Linked DNA regions of Homo sapiens: region 2 is linked to region 1. The links are contacts of gene promoters, found by promoter capture Hi-C in human tissues and cell types (Jung and others, 2019). All regions are on one chromosome and are shown on one strand. The core of a region is centred on a gene start or on the middle of the fragment in contact, and the rest is flanking DNA. Distances in the headings are between cores, read along the strand shown. Region 1 holds the start of MAP6 (microtubule associated protein 6). Region 2 overlaps MAP6 (microtubule associated protein 6).

Evidence for each region. Contacts are between HindIII fragments. The study calls those that stand out against the background at their distance.
Region 2: a fragment that was not itself captured here is called in contact with the fragment with the promoter of MAP6 in region 1 in 1 of the 25 tissues and cell types used here (pancreas).

Annotation. Positions count from the first base shown.
Region 1 is chr11:75,665,205-75,671,917 of GRCh38, reverse strand. It overlaps MAP6 (microtubule associated protein 6), which reads left to right and starts at 2,880. Exons shown (of 4, transcript NM_033063.2): 1 at 2,880-4,453. The coding sequence starts at 3,549. The HindIII fragment of the contact is 8,929 bases long and covers 1-6,713 here.
Region 2 is chr11:75,624,007-75,630,719 of GRCh38, reverse strand. All of the region lies in intron 1 of MAP6 (microtubule associated protein 6), which reads left to right. Among named protein-coding and RNA genes, the nearest start is that of MAP6, 42 kb to the left of the region's middle. The HindIII fragment of the contact is 3,340 bases long and covers 1,501-4,840 here.

The sequences.
Region 1 (6,713 bases), core at 1,631-4,130:
TCCTGTGCCCCCTTCTGATTTTCTCTGTGTTTGCTTCAACCTTAGGAAGCCTCCCCACCAGTAATGGCAAAGATGACCACTAACAGTAGCTTCATAGTCTTCCATTTTAGCAATTCTAGAAAAAAAAAAAAAAGGAGAGTGGGTCTTTAGGATAGTTTCAGCTAAAGTCTGGGGTTTCTTTAACTGGTCTAATGTGGATCACACCCCCATCACTAAACTAGTCACTTTGACCAGGAAGATGCATCCCCCTGGCAAACAGGTGTGAGTCATATGGGCACCCCTGGAAGGTAGGTGGGTTAGGATTACCTCCACCTGAACCACATGGCCTGAAAATAGAAGAGTGGCCCTCAAAATTCAAATGATGAGGTGCTGTGACCACCCGAATGATTGCTAAATAAGCCATATAAGAGATGACCACTAGACTTGTCTGTCCCACAGGGTCATTGGATGGTCCAGGGAGGTTGAATGCATTTTTCAAATCCAAGTAAATAAATGTGGAAGGTGATGTTAACGATAAAATTTTCCTTACACTTCTCATGCTGGGAGAACTCCTTCTCATCTCTTACTAGTCATTCATTCAGCACCAGTGTTAACCTCTGTTATGTTGACCATACTCTTTGATAATTATTTACTTATGTGTCTGTCTCTCAGTTCTCCAATAACACATTCTTTCAAGTGAGGGCTCCTCCAGAGCTATAATCCATATGTGTCCTATAGTCCTCAAGGCACAAAGTAGGCATCAGGAGACTAGACTTGTTAAATGAAAGAAGGATAAACTATCAGTGATTCTCAGAATAGACATCCTCCCTCCAATTTTTAGCCTTTTTTAAACCTTTGGAAATCATTATTGGAAATGCATCAGCCAAATCCCAGGGAGTTCTGCAGGGGTGAGAAGAGGAAATGTACGACCAGATTATGTTCTTTATAAAAATATATCTCCTAACGACTGGAAAACAGCACCAGACATTATTTTATTTATGGAACTCAAATCAAATCACCAAGAGGCAAAGTCCTAAGTAGGAGGAAGTTCAGTAGATAATTGACTAATCAGAGCTGTCTTCTCATCCAATTTGATTCTAGGATTAAAGAAAATCTGTGTTGTGCAACCCATTTATAATCTAAACACATACATGACTTTCTCTCCCTGAAACACCAATGCTCCCAGCTTAACTGATACTGAAAACTCTGCCTATATTGGAGGGGAAAAGAGCTGAAGTCCAGTGGATGTAGCTAGTGGAGGAGTGCAGGAGACATAAATGGAGAGATAGCAAAGACAGAACAAAAGTTACTTGGAGGAACAAGAGGTCTCCTGGAGAAGGTGTCCAAGTGGCTTCTTAGGACACTCCACTTATGGGTCTTCTGGGTGGGCCTTTTGGATACTAATAGCTACCATTTATTGAGCCATTGCCATATGCCAGATGTTGTGGTAAGCATTTTTAGTGCATTATCTCATTTTAATTCTCAGAACAACCTTGCAAGTTCAGTATTGGTACCCCCATTCATAGATGAAACTGAAGGTCAGAAGATTGCAGTGATTTGCCCACTGCCATACAGTTAAGAGCTACAAAAGCCAGGATTTGAATCTCTGCAGATTAGATTTGACTCAAAGCTTCTGCCCTGGGTCCTTCGCTATCCTCACAAAACCACTTTTTTTTTCTTTTTGAGATGGAGTTTTGCTCTTGTCACCCAGGCTGGAGTGCAATGGCACTATCTCGGCTCACTGCAACCTCCACCTCCTAGGTTCAAGCGATTCTCCTGCCTCAGCCTCCTGAGTAGCTGGGATTACAGGCACGCACCATCATGCCCAGCTAATTTTTGTATTTTTAGTAGAGACAGGGTTTCACCATGTTGGCCAGGGTGGTCTTGAACTCCCAACCTCAGGTGATCCACCGGCCTCAGCTTACCAAAGTGCTGGGATTACAAGTGTGAGCCACGACGCCCGGCCCACAAAACCATTTTTGAGGCAGGTAGTATTTCCTCCATTCTACAGATGAGGAGACTGAAACACAGGGATGACTCAACTTGCCCAAGTGGCACAGAGAGTAGCAGAGCCAAACCAGGTCTTTCGGACTTCAAAATCTCTTCTGCTTTGAAGATAGAAGAAGAGCAACGGCGAGGAGTGAGAACGTGCCAGAAGGCCCCTGCAGGCCAGGCACTGCCGTTTCCTAGGGCACAGGTCCTACCTACTCCCAACCTCCACAATTAAGCCACTTTCCAGAATTTTCTTTTCTCTACCTCTGCCCCAGTGTGGCACCTGAACTGAACAGGGACTGGGCGGTTCTTGGGGGAGTCTAAAACATACCTTCGCAAAGATTCCCTAGGAAAGGAACATCCAGGGCACCACCAGCCCTGGTGCTCCCATTCCGACACATCTGAGCAAGGCCTGTGCGTAAGACTGGCAAGTGCTTGAACCAGGAGGCAACCAAACTGGGCTCAAACACAGCCCGCCGGTTTTGACCAATTCCAGCAGCTCCCCTTTTCAAAGCATCTATTCTGGGACAGACATTTCACTAGGAGTTTCCTCCATGTTTTAAAATTTAATAGCACCCCCCCCCCCCATTGGCCCTATTTTACAAAAGAGGAGCCTCCGACTCCTGGGGATGAAGCGACAAGCACAAGGACAGAAAGTCCTCACGAGCTTGGGACTTGAACCCACTACGTCCCCAGATTCTGCTGTTGCCCGGGAGTAGAGGAGGGAGGAGCTGCCAGGGCGGAGGGTGGTGGGGAGGGAAGGCAAGCTCCCAGCAGCGCAAGCTGACGACAGCAGGTGTTTTTGTTTTGTTTTGTTTTTTTCTGCAGCACTCTTTCAGTCAGCATCGTTCCTGGATTTTTTTCTCACTGCTGAGCAGCATAAAAGGGTGGGGCCGCTTCCCTGCAGCAGAGGCAGAGGCGGCGGCGGCAGCGGCTGCAGCATCATTCGCGGGCAGCGGCGGAGACCGAGAGCTGCAGAAAAGGGTGGGGTCGCTTCCCAGGAGAAGAGGCGGTGGCGGCGGCGGCTGCGGCATCCTCGCGGGCAGCGGCGGAGGCAGCAATGCTCGGTCTCCGCTGGAGGTGATGGCCTCCCAGCCCTGCTAGGTGGCCGGCTGCACTAGGACGCCGGCAGGAAGGAGACTCGAGCCCGGTCCGCGGACCCTGCGGCCACACCGCCCGGCCCCTCCTCTGCGCCATGGCTTAAGCCTGTAGCCACCTCTCCTCACGTCGCCTCGCTCGACCGAGGTCTGTGCGCCGCCGCAGCCGCAGGGAGGGGCGCGTCCCAGACACCCTCGCCGGGGACTCGGGAACGCCGTGCGTCTCACCCTTCGGCGCTCGCAGCAGACTGCGCTCCCAAAGGCGTTTGCGACCGGTAATCGAGGGACTCTACAGACTCTCCTAGGACAGCTCTCCCCGGGTGCTCGCTGAGGGAGGAGGGCGAACTAGCTCCGGCTGATCGGGGGTAGAAAACGGTGGGAACCACATTGGCCGGTCAGGATCGGAGGCTGAAGGAAGATTATAGAGACTTGCTTTAGAACCACAAGAAGAAAGAGGAGGCCGGCTTTTCAGCTAGCATCATGGCGTGGCCGTGCATCACGAGGGCCTGCTGCATCGCCCGCTTCTGGAACCAGTTGGACAAAGCGGACATCGCTGTGCCGCTGGTTTTCACCAAGTACTCGGAGGCCACCGAGCACCCGGGCGCCCCGCCGCAGCCACCGCCGCCGCAGCAGCAGGCGCAGCCGGCGCTCGCGCCCCCCTCGGCGCGCGCGGTTGCCATAGAGACGCAGCCAGCCCAGGGCGAGTTGGATGCAGTTGCCCGGGCAACGGGGCCAGCGCCTGGGCCTACCGGCGAGCGCGAGCCGGCGGCGGGCCCCGGCCGGAGCGGGCCGGGCCCGGGCCTGGGCTCCGGCTCCACCTCCGGCCCCGCGGACTCGGTGATGCGGCAGGATTACCGAGCCTGGAAGGTGCAGCGGCCCGAGCCCAGCTGCCGGCCGCGCAGCGAATACCAGCCCTCCGACGCTCCCTTCGAGCGCGAGACCCAGTACCAGAAGGACTTCCGCGCCTGGCCGCTGCCGCGCCGCGGGGACCACCCGTGGATCCCCAAGCCCGTGCAGATCTCTGCGGCCTCCCAGGCGTCGGCGCCCATTCTCGGGGCGCCCAAGCGCCGGCCGCAGAGCCAGGAGCGCTGGCCAGTGCAGGCCGCCGCTGAGGCCCGGGAGCAGGAGGCGGCCCCCGGCGGAGCGGGTGGCCTGGCGGCCGGAAAGGCGTCCGGGGCGGACGAGCGCGACACGCGCAGGAAGGCCGGGCCTGCCTGGATTGTGCGCCGCGCCGAGGGCCTGGGGCACGAGCAGACGCCGCTGCCCGCGGCCCAGGCCCAGGTCCAGGCCACCGGCCCCGAGGCTGGCAGGGGGCGCGCCGCGGCGGACGCCCTCAACCGGCAAATCCGCGAGGAGGTGGCGAGTGCAGTGAGCAGCTCCTACAGGTGAGACGCGGCCGCTGCTAGCGCGGGGGAGTCACCACGCAGACCCTCCCCGCGGGCTGCCCGGGGCCCAGGATCCCCAGCGCAGGCCTAGCGTGCAGCCTCCCTCCAGTCCCAGGCCACACCCTCTCCCCAGCCGCCTCCCAGGCCACCTCCTGTCGAAGCCTTCTCTTCTGCCCTGTCCCATGCGCAAGCTGTTAGTATATTCCATCTCAGCCTGCCTGGCTCTTTCACTTTACCGCTGTAGCCCTTTTCTCCATCCCTCCCACCTCAGATCCCTGCCTTCCCACAGAGACCCTTTGCAATGTCAGCAGAGGCTGTGCTTCCGTCGTGCCCCCATCCAACTCACCTGCTGCGTTAGCCTGGATGTTGCCCTTTGCAGGGTCCCCATTCTTCCAGAAGAAGAATTCTTTCCAAGTGGCCTCTCGCCCTCCTCCCTAGCCCAGTTCCCTTGGCCCTTCATTCTTTCCTCCCTTTCTCAGTCTCTGGGCAACACCCAAGCACCATACCTTTTTCTAGATTACCCACAGGATCTTTACAAATTACCCCCCACCTTCCACCGCTGGAACTTTGAAGTCATTGTCCTTCCACCTCTCCCTAGCTGTGACATATTGGGCAAGTTTCCTAACCTTTCTGGGCCTCATGTTCTTATCTGTAAGATGTAATTGGTAATAGACATCTCTTAGGATTGTTCACACTTTTATTGATTTAATATTAAACATTTTATTTTTATTTAGTTAATATTAAATATTCAACATATTTTTGAGTGCCTACTATATGCCAGGCAGTGTGCCGGACATTGTGAGGATTAAATGAGATAATCAGGAGAACAGCTCGTGCCTAGCACATAGTGGTAATTAGTACATCTTGGTTCCATTCCTACCTTCCACATGATACCTTATGATCCTACTTCCTAGGTGCCTCCAGCCTTCTCTGCTATTGAGGCATCTTCTTTCTCTCTCCTTTCCCTACATGTTCTCCAGATGTCTCTCATTCTCTTGCCACCAAAAACCCCTTTCTCCAGCACACTCAATTCCTTGCAAATGAATGCTTTCAAGCATGAAAATCTCTCTCTCTCTTTCCTTCTAGAATTTTCCCTCTGCTGCAGCTTCAGCCATTCCAGTCTGCTTTCTTGCCCTTCATCCATCCGGTATATATTTCTGAAGGCTTAGCTTTCAATTCTCCCCTTATGTTTCAACCAACATCAATTAGCTAACAGAACACAGTTGACTCTGGACATGCAACATTGCATTTGGGGTCTCTCGGGGAAGATCTGTATGAAAGTAATTGAGCTAGAGGTGTTCAAAATGCAGCTTATGGGGTCCTTTATCAATGCCACAGCTTTCTGCTGCCTCCTTCCTGCAAGAGGGTGTGGGGGGCGGGGAGGACTAGAGAGTTAGTCCTTTGCCAAGACTCTGTATATAGGTTAGACTAATATCCTTCTCCAGTGAACATTACCAATACTCTCTCATAGGCTGAGGAAAGAATAGCATATCCAGACATCCTTCATGTTAAGAGAAAATCTGTCCCCCAACTCCTACCCCTGCATTTCTCATCTTCCTGAATTCCACCTCCCACTTGGCATCTCTCTCTTGGTTTATTGCTATCACAACAACCACACTGGGAACCCAGGAGTACAGCACTTCCTTTGAGCTCTTGGTCAAACAAGGACATAAATCCTTTTCCTTGAATAGCCATGAGATGGTAGAATGTTCACTATGTTTTTATGCTGCTACCAAGCGGGGAGCAAAAGAAAAGAGGGGAAACAAATAAGCAGGAGACATAAAAAACAAAGGCAGGATGTAGTTTTCTAGTTCTGCTATGGCTTGCTTGCTTCAAGACCCTACTTCATTTCTTGATCTTCCTACCCTGAGAAGCCCACGTCTGGCCCAACATCATAGATTACTGGCTTGGCCTCTTCATCTTCCCACTCTCATTCTAGCACCCTGTGGCAGGTGGAACCTTACTACCCACTAGCAGGAGCTGTCTCTTCTCACCACCATGCAGTCAATGCCAATCAAGAGAGATTCCAGATTCTTAAGCCTCCTTGGGTGATCCTACTCAGTTTATGATTTCAAGTTGGCAGGACTTGCTTTGTTTATGGATGAGTGGCCTGTCAGTCAAGGAATGACCACATCCTTTGAATATAACGCACTCCAGATTTGGGGTTGTACCTTGTTCCATATAGCCTTTTTCCTCAAAACAACAGCTTAGCTGTGCAGTAAGCATGTCGTGCTTCACATGCCATGCTTCACATTACACA
Region 2 (6,713 bases), core at 1,921-4,420, 41 kb after region 1:
TACAGATAGGAAGCTGGAACTCAGTTCAGGGCTTAGTTGAATGAATATTACCTGGTACCCAGAGAAATTTGAAGGAATCTATTTTTAGGAGTGACTAGTAGGTCACACCTATAAAATTCAAGATCTGGTATAAATAGTCTGAAATTTGGACTTCAGTCTGGACTTTTGTAGTATTCTATGATATATCAGATAGAAGCCTCTTTTAAAATTTTAAGTTAAATATTCATCATTAAATTATATCAGGTAAGATACAACATTATAGAAACAGATTCATTTCAATGCAGAACCTTTAATGAATATCAACTGTGAACTAGGTGCAATGGTTTACAAAAACAATTAAGCTGGTGATTCCTGCCAAACATGCAAAGAAAAATTAATACCAATTTTCACAAACTCTTCCAAAAAATAGAAAAAGAGAGAACACTTCATAGCTCATTCTATAAGGTCAATATTACCCTGACACCAAAACCAGACAAAGACACAAGAGTTCACCAGTGAAGATGGGAGGAGTTTAAGCCCAGGAGTCCCATGCTGGTTCTCTAACTGGGCTGGGTGGATTTCTGGGAGAGGGTAGAGTCGGAAAGTTCGGAAGACCACGATGAAGACAATGGTGTGAAGGTGGTGGTGATGATAGTTACAGCAGCACATGCACACACACTCGCATCACTCATATGAACACAGATTTGAAATCCAGTAGTGTGTTTTATCAAGCATTCTTCTCTAAGGTAGGTCCTAGCCTTGTCTTTGCTGTAGTTACTTATTGTGGTGGATATTAGAAGACATGAGAATTCAGTGTGTAGCTGATGAACAAGAACCGAGACTTTTGTTCCTCTGTCAACAAGACTTCCTCTCACTGCCTTCTTATTTTCTCTTCTCCTCTTCATTCCCCTCAGCCCACTCCCCTCCCGGCAATGCCCTCACTGTCCTTCAGTAACAGCTCCCTCCAAATACCACCATCCCTGTCAGTATATCTATAGCCCTGTTTACAAACTTGCATTCAGACCTAGATCTAATTATTTGGTTATGACACTGCAGTTTATATTAACCCTTTGACAAACAAGCAAGTGATAGCAGCTGTGGAATAAACTTTTTCCAATCCCTTTGACCTCAAAATAAAAGAATATAAGAATATAAAGTCAGTCTTTTGAGCAAAGTCTTTTGCCCTTTATAGTGAAAGCTTTATTGAATGCATGAGGACAGAATTAATTCAGGGAAAAAAATGTACTTCATATGCAGGATGCCAGAAAAGCTCCCACCCTGAGCACCACTTTTATTGGCACAAGTTGACCTGCAGAAGTCCCAAGCAGAGACACGATAGAAAGACCCAGGCTTGGCAGGGGGTGGTGGCTCATGCCTGTAATCCCAGCACTTTGGGAGGCCGAGTTAGGAGGATCACTTGAGACCAGGAGTTGGAGACCAGCCTGACCAACATGGTGAAACCCCATCTCTACTAAAAATACAAAAATTAGCCAGGCATTGTGGCACATGCATGTAATCCCAGCTACTTCGGAGGCTAAGGCAGGAAAATCACTTGAACTCAGGAGGCGGAATTTGCAGTGAGCCGAGATCGCACCACTGCACTCCAGCCTGAGTAAAGAGCAAGACTTTGTCTCAAAAAATAAAAATAAAAAAATGAAAGACGCAGGCTTTTCGTCTTTGTGAGCCTGAGTCCCAGCACTGCCACTTGCCAGCTCTGTGACTTTGGGCAGATCTCTTTACCTCACAGAGCCTCTGTGTTCCAACATGTAAAATAGGAGTAGTAACTTCTATCTTGCAGGGTTAATTTGAGATTAAATTAGATCAAGCAAATCTATTATTAAAGCTTCTGGCACACAGTAAGTTTTCATTCATTGTAAATGTAACTTTTACGTTCAACAAATGCAGCTCATCAGACATAATTGCAAGGTGATTTTATTTTTGCCTCCCACTATCCCTTTAAATTTATTCTCCAGGTCAAGTTCTTCCCCTCCCCTTTCACAAAATTTTGGATGGGTCTCATAACTTGTACAATATTTAGGGAAGTCTTGTAACTTGGCAAATGTCAGGAAATAAAAGTCCTCCAGTAATTTAAATGTTCAGTCCTATGTAATAGTCAAAGTAGTCAGTCTATTTAAAGTGAATGTTTTTCTCCCTCCTGCCGCTCTGGCCTGCTGCAGAGGAGATGCCTACAGTGGGCTTCTACTGCCCTGTCCTCCCCTCCCCCAGCTCCTCACCTTTCCAGGGTTGGTATTCGGGGAGCAAGGGCGGGGAGGAGGCAAGCTCTCGCTTGGACCCGTGTGGCCATGGTGACTGATGTCCCCCAGCAGGTGTTTAAGCTGGGATCTTTGTCTTGCGGGTGCTTTGCTGGGTTCTTTGGAGGCCCCCACCCATCACTTTGAATCTCATACCACAGTCCCTTGATAAATGTGAATCTCTCTGGCTGCTCCCATACTCCTTCCTCACCCCCAGCATCCTGCAGTCCCTCCAGCTTCTTTCTGGTGGGATCTGTTTGCCACTTCAGCTGGCCCTCTTGACCCCATCTGCTCCAGGAAAACAGCACCGTGCATTCTTTGCTCCAGCAAACAGAGTACAGGCCACCCCCAACACAACCATTTCTCTCTCCCTCTGCTCCAAGACCAGCTAGCCAGCTGTCTCCTGGGCCTTGTCTCTCAGATGAGTCAGCTATGGCTCCAGCACAGCCCCTGAGATCCGGGTGTCCTTGAGCCTCTCTCTTGATTTCAGTCGAAGGGAGAAGTAGCCCCGTCACAGCACACAGAGCTCTTGCCAACGTCCTCTCCCTCCACCATTCTCAGCCTTTCCTTTGAGGATCCTGCATTGTGACCTTGTGCCTGCTTTGGTATTGTCTCAGTGCCTCAGCTGAATGTTCCATTTCAGTTCTGGGACATGGCTCCTAATTGTAGTATTTTTGTTTAATTCTAACATCTCTACTTATTGCTGTCCAAGGTCAAGACACGGAACCCCCTGAGCTCCTGTTTCCTCATCTGTAAAACGAGGATGATAATAACAGTGTCTACTCCATAGGATCTCCATGACGATTGAATGAGGTAGTGAAAAAGTGTGCCTCATACAGTTTCTGGAACCAAGAAGCTTCTCTGTCATCTACCTTCACGATCATCACCATTACCATCATTAGTCTGAAAGCAAATCAGTTTCTCACTGTGACGGTCCCCTTGTTTTCAGGTCCTTTTGTTTCCAACCCTCCCTCCTCCTACTGTTTGGCCAGAGCACACACACACAAAGACACATACAGACATGGACGTACGTGCAAGCACAGCCACATGTGCAGAGCAGAGGCCGTTTAGGCGTGTCTTTGATGCTGACACTTCCACACCCAGCACTCTGGTGCCCCTTACTAACTGGTTTATCTCTGCACACTGCCCTCCCAGGAACCTAATTAAGTTGTAGGCCTGTGTGAGGCCAGCTGCTGCTGGACCATCAGCATCTCTCTTCCAGGACCCCTAGGTCTCTCCAAATGGCACAGAGTTCCCTGGGGCAGAAAGACGGGCTAATCCCATTGTTGGGAAGTCAGGTGCGGAGTGTCTGTGTTGAATGATTACAAGCATGAAGATGATTTTTGAATCTCACAGAGGGATGCTCTGCATATTTCCTCTCTGCTTTCAGCCATTTCCTAGGTTATACACAGTTTGGCTCTGCTCCAAAAAGAGAAAACATAAGTAATAGGACAGTAGGCCTGTTTTCAATTTGTAATGCATTTTTTTCTGCCACCCGTCACAATTAGATTTCACTCATCGCCTCCTGCCAGTGGTTACAGGGCCCACTCTGGGCCTCCTCACCTCCCTCTGTTTCTATGGGTTATAGCACCTCTGATATCAAATGACTCAAATCATTTATTTTCCTCTTCTGCCCTTCACTAGATTGTGGGCTCCTTGTCTTTTCTTCCCAGGGCCTGGATCGTAGTCTCTCTGAGGCCCTAGATGAGTAACCTCACCTCTCTGAGCTTAGTTTCCTCATCCATAAAACAGAAAGTAATAGTGCCTAACTCAAAAGGTGGCTCTGAGATTTAAATTAAGTAATGAATGCAAAGCACCTGATACACAGTGGGCCCTCAGTAAAGGGTACCGATATTATAATTGCTGCAGGCACTCAATAAATGCCTTAAATAATTTATTAGCAGAAGTGACACTAAGTTTGTAATTTAGATTATTATTAAATAAAACATACTTGAATCTGCAGCCTCCAGTCTCTCCCTATCCCAGCCTCTTATTGCCCCAAAGTGGTCTGAGTCACCAAAACAAAATACCTCCCGGGCCACATCATCACGTCACTCCTCTGCTCTTAGGTCTTGAGTGGCTCCTGCTGCTTCCAGGGTCAAGCCTGAGCTCCAGTGTGTGGTCCCTCCTTACCGCTCCACCTTCTTTGCCTCTACTGGCCTTCATATAATTCTTAGCTATAAAATGAAAGTGTTCAGATGTCTGTCCAGCTCTGCTACTCCATGATTCTTATGCAGTCATATTCACTCAGCAAGCCTTTTCTCAGTGCCTGCTCTGTGCTGGGCTAGGCTCAGATACGCTCCTGTCCTCTAGGGCATCCAGTTCAGAGAGGATATATGCTTGTCAAGAGATGACTGCAGCAGACTGGGATGCCGTGTGGAAGCTGGAGTGAGAGTTTTCATCCTGTCTTAGGGGTCAGTGATGGCTCACAGAGGTGATACGTGTGAGGTCAAGCAAAGAGCATGGGGCCTGGGAGAGCATTCTAGAAAGAGAGCAATATAAGCAAAGACCAGGGATGTAGATAAGCTACTCAGAGGACGAGAGTGGGAGGCAATGGGCCTACAGAAGTGGGCTGTGCTGGACTGGACCCGTGGTCTGGCTGGGGAGTCTGGCCTTGATCCTCCAGATGAGGAATTAACAGAGGTCTTTTAATCAGGCCAAGCCTATTTTCAACCATGGCAGAAGTGTGCCTCCCTTCTGGTACTGTAATTTGTGCATGTGATTGGTACCAAATTTTATTTTGATATTTAAGTAAGAGAAAAAAGTTGTGGGATTCTTTTTGTTTGTTTGTTTTTTGTTTTCTGTACAGAAACTGATTGCTGTAGAACAGTAGGAAAGTGTCAGATCTGAAGTTAATGGTTCACTCTTGAATTTGAGTTCTGGTCCTCCTGTTTGTTAGCTGTGTGCCCTTGAGCAAATCGCTCACCTCTCTGGGCTTTGGTTTTCTCATTAGAATGAGGGGAGGTCCCTGCCTGGTGGCACTGTGTGGGGATTGAGGGCATGTTTGTGCAGCATCTGGTGCACACTGTAGGCCCCAACATCCTCTTCTCTTCTCTCCCCCTCAGTCTCAGGATGCCAGCCTGACCACCTGCATAGCTGACAGATAAAGAATGCAGGGTGCTGATGCGAAGGAGGCTTCCTTTGAAATATTAATTGCTTCCCCCAAAGACTAGGTGTTTTCAAGGGCTTTGTTTGCTCAGCTGAATGCACATGACATGATGGGCTTGGACCTGCCATCCCAGGCTGCCTGGAAAATGCCTCTAAAGATGACTCCAAGCGCTGTGGCTGTGCTAATGAGTTTGTGGGGATGATCTTCTTATGAATGCTGGGAGGGAAGGATTGCAGAAATGTCAGTGCCTCTCCTTCCCTGCCTGAAAATCCCTACTCTTCTAAAACTGCCCTGAGATTCCTCGGCGAGGCCCTTGAACTCCCAGAGCACCTGCTCTCCCCAGGCTCTGGTGTGTACTTTTGTTTTCTTTGTGTTGAGTGAGGCTTACTGCCCCACTCAGCTGAACATTGTTAGAGGCCAGTTCACATCTTTTTGTTACTCTAGGATGCATCCTCAATGCGTGTTGAACAGAATCGCCAGCAGAGGCCCAGCGGCATGAAACAATGCTTACTATGTAGGCTGAGCACCTGCTGTGTGCAAAGTGTGTTCAGTAGGCACTTGTTGTCCATTGGAATATGAGCCTGGAGCCAGGTAGGGACGTGCTGTGAAGGTGATCATGCCTTTCGAAAGAACATGACTATTCTCCTGATGGGTCTATGCATTATGCTGACTTGTGCCCTTAGCCTTTTTCTATCTACTCCCTTTTTTGGCCTATATTTAAGTTGCATCTCGGGTAGAAAAGAGAAGCAGAAAATTCAAGGCAGGGATAGTTCATGCAGACACAGGCTAATGAACATGCTTCAGGCATCTACAGGGCAGCTCGTGGAGCTTGAGATACGGAGTTGGATGGGCCTGGGTTCCAGTCAGGCCCTGACTGGCCATGACACTTCAGGGAAGACCTTGAACCTCTCTGGGAGCCAGGGGGCCTCCAGCCTTACTGGGCTGTGCTGATGGTGAGAGAGTGAGTGCATGTAAGTGCCGCCCACCCCTCTGGCATAGAGAGGAATTAAGGAAGTGGTGCAGCCACCCTGAGCAATTGGCCTCTGAGGTGCTGGCCACAGCACATCACTGTCACCCTGGGTCCCAGCCCAGGCAAGTTTTGTGCTACAGCTTCATGATGAAATTCCACATCCCATTTCTGAGGAAGCCTCTCTGGATTTCATGGCCTGAAAAACAAGTCTCACATTTTCTCAGACACTGACACCTCTGAGCATGTCTATTACTTCTCCTAGAGTTAGCAGGTTGCTGAAAAGCTTGCCGAAAGTAAAATTACAATGTGAAAAGAAAGAGAGATATCGAAGCCAGAGAAGGTTAGTTGGGCCTGGGTAAATGAAGTCCATGATTCACTCACCAGACTGCCCACCCGCTGCTGG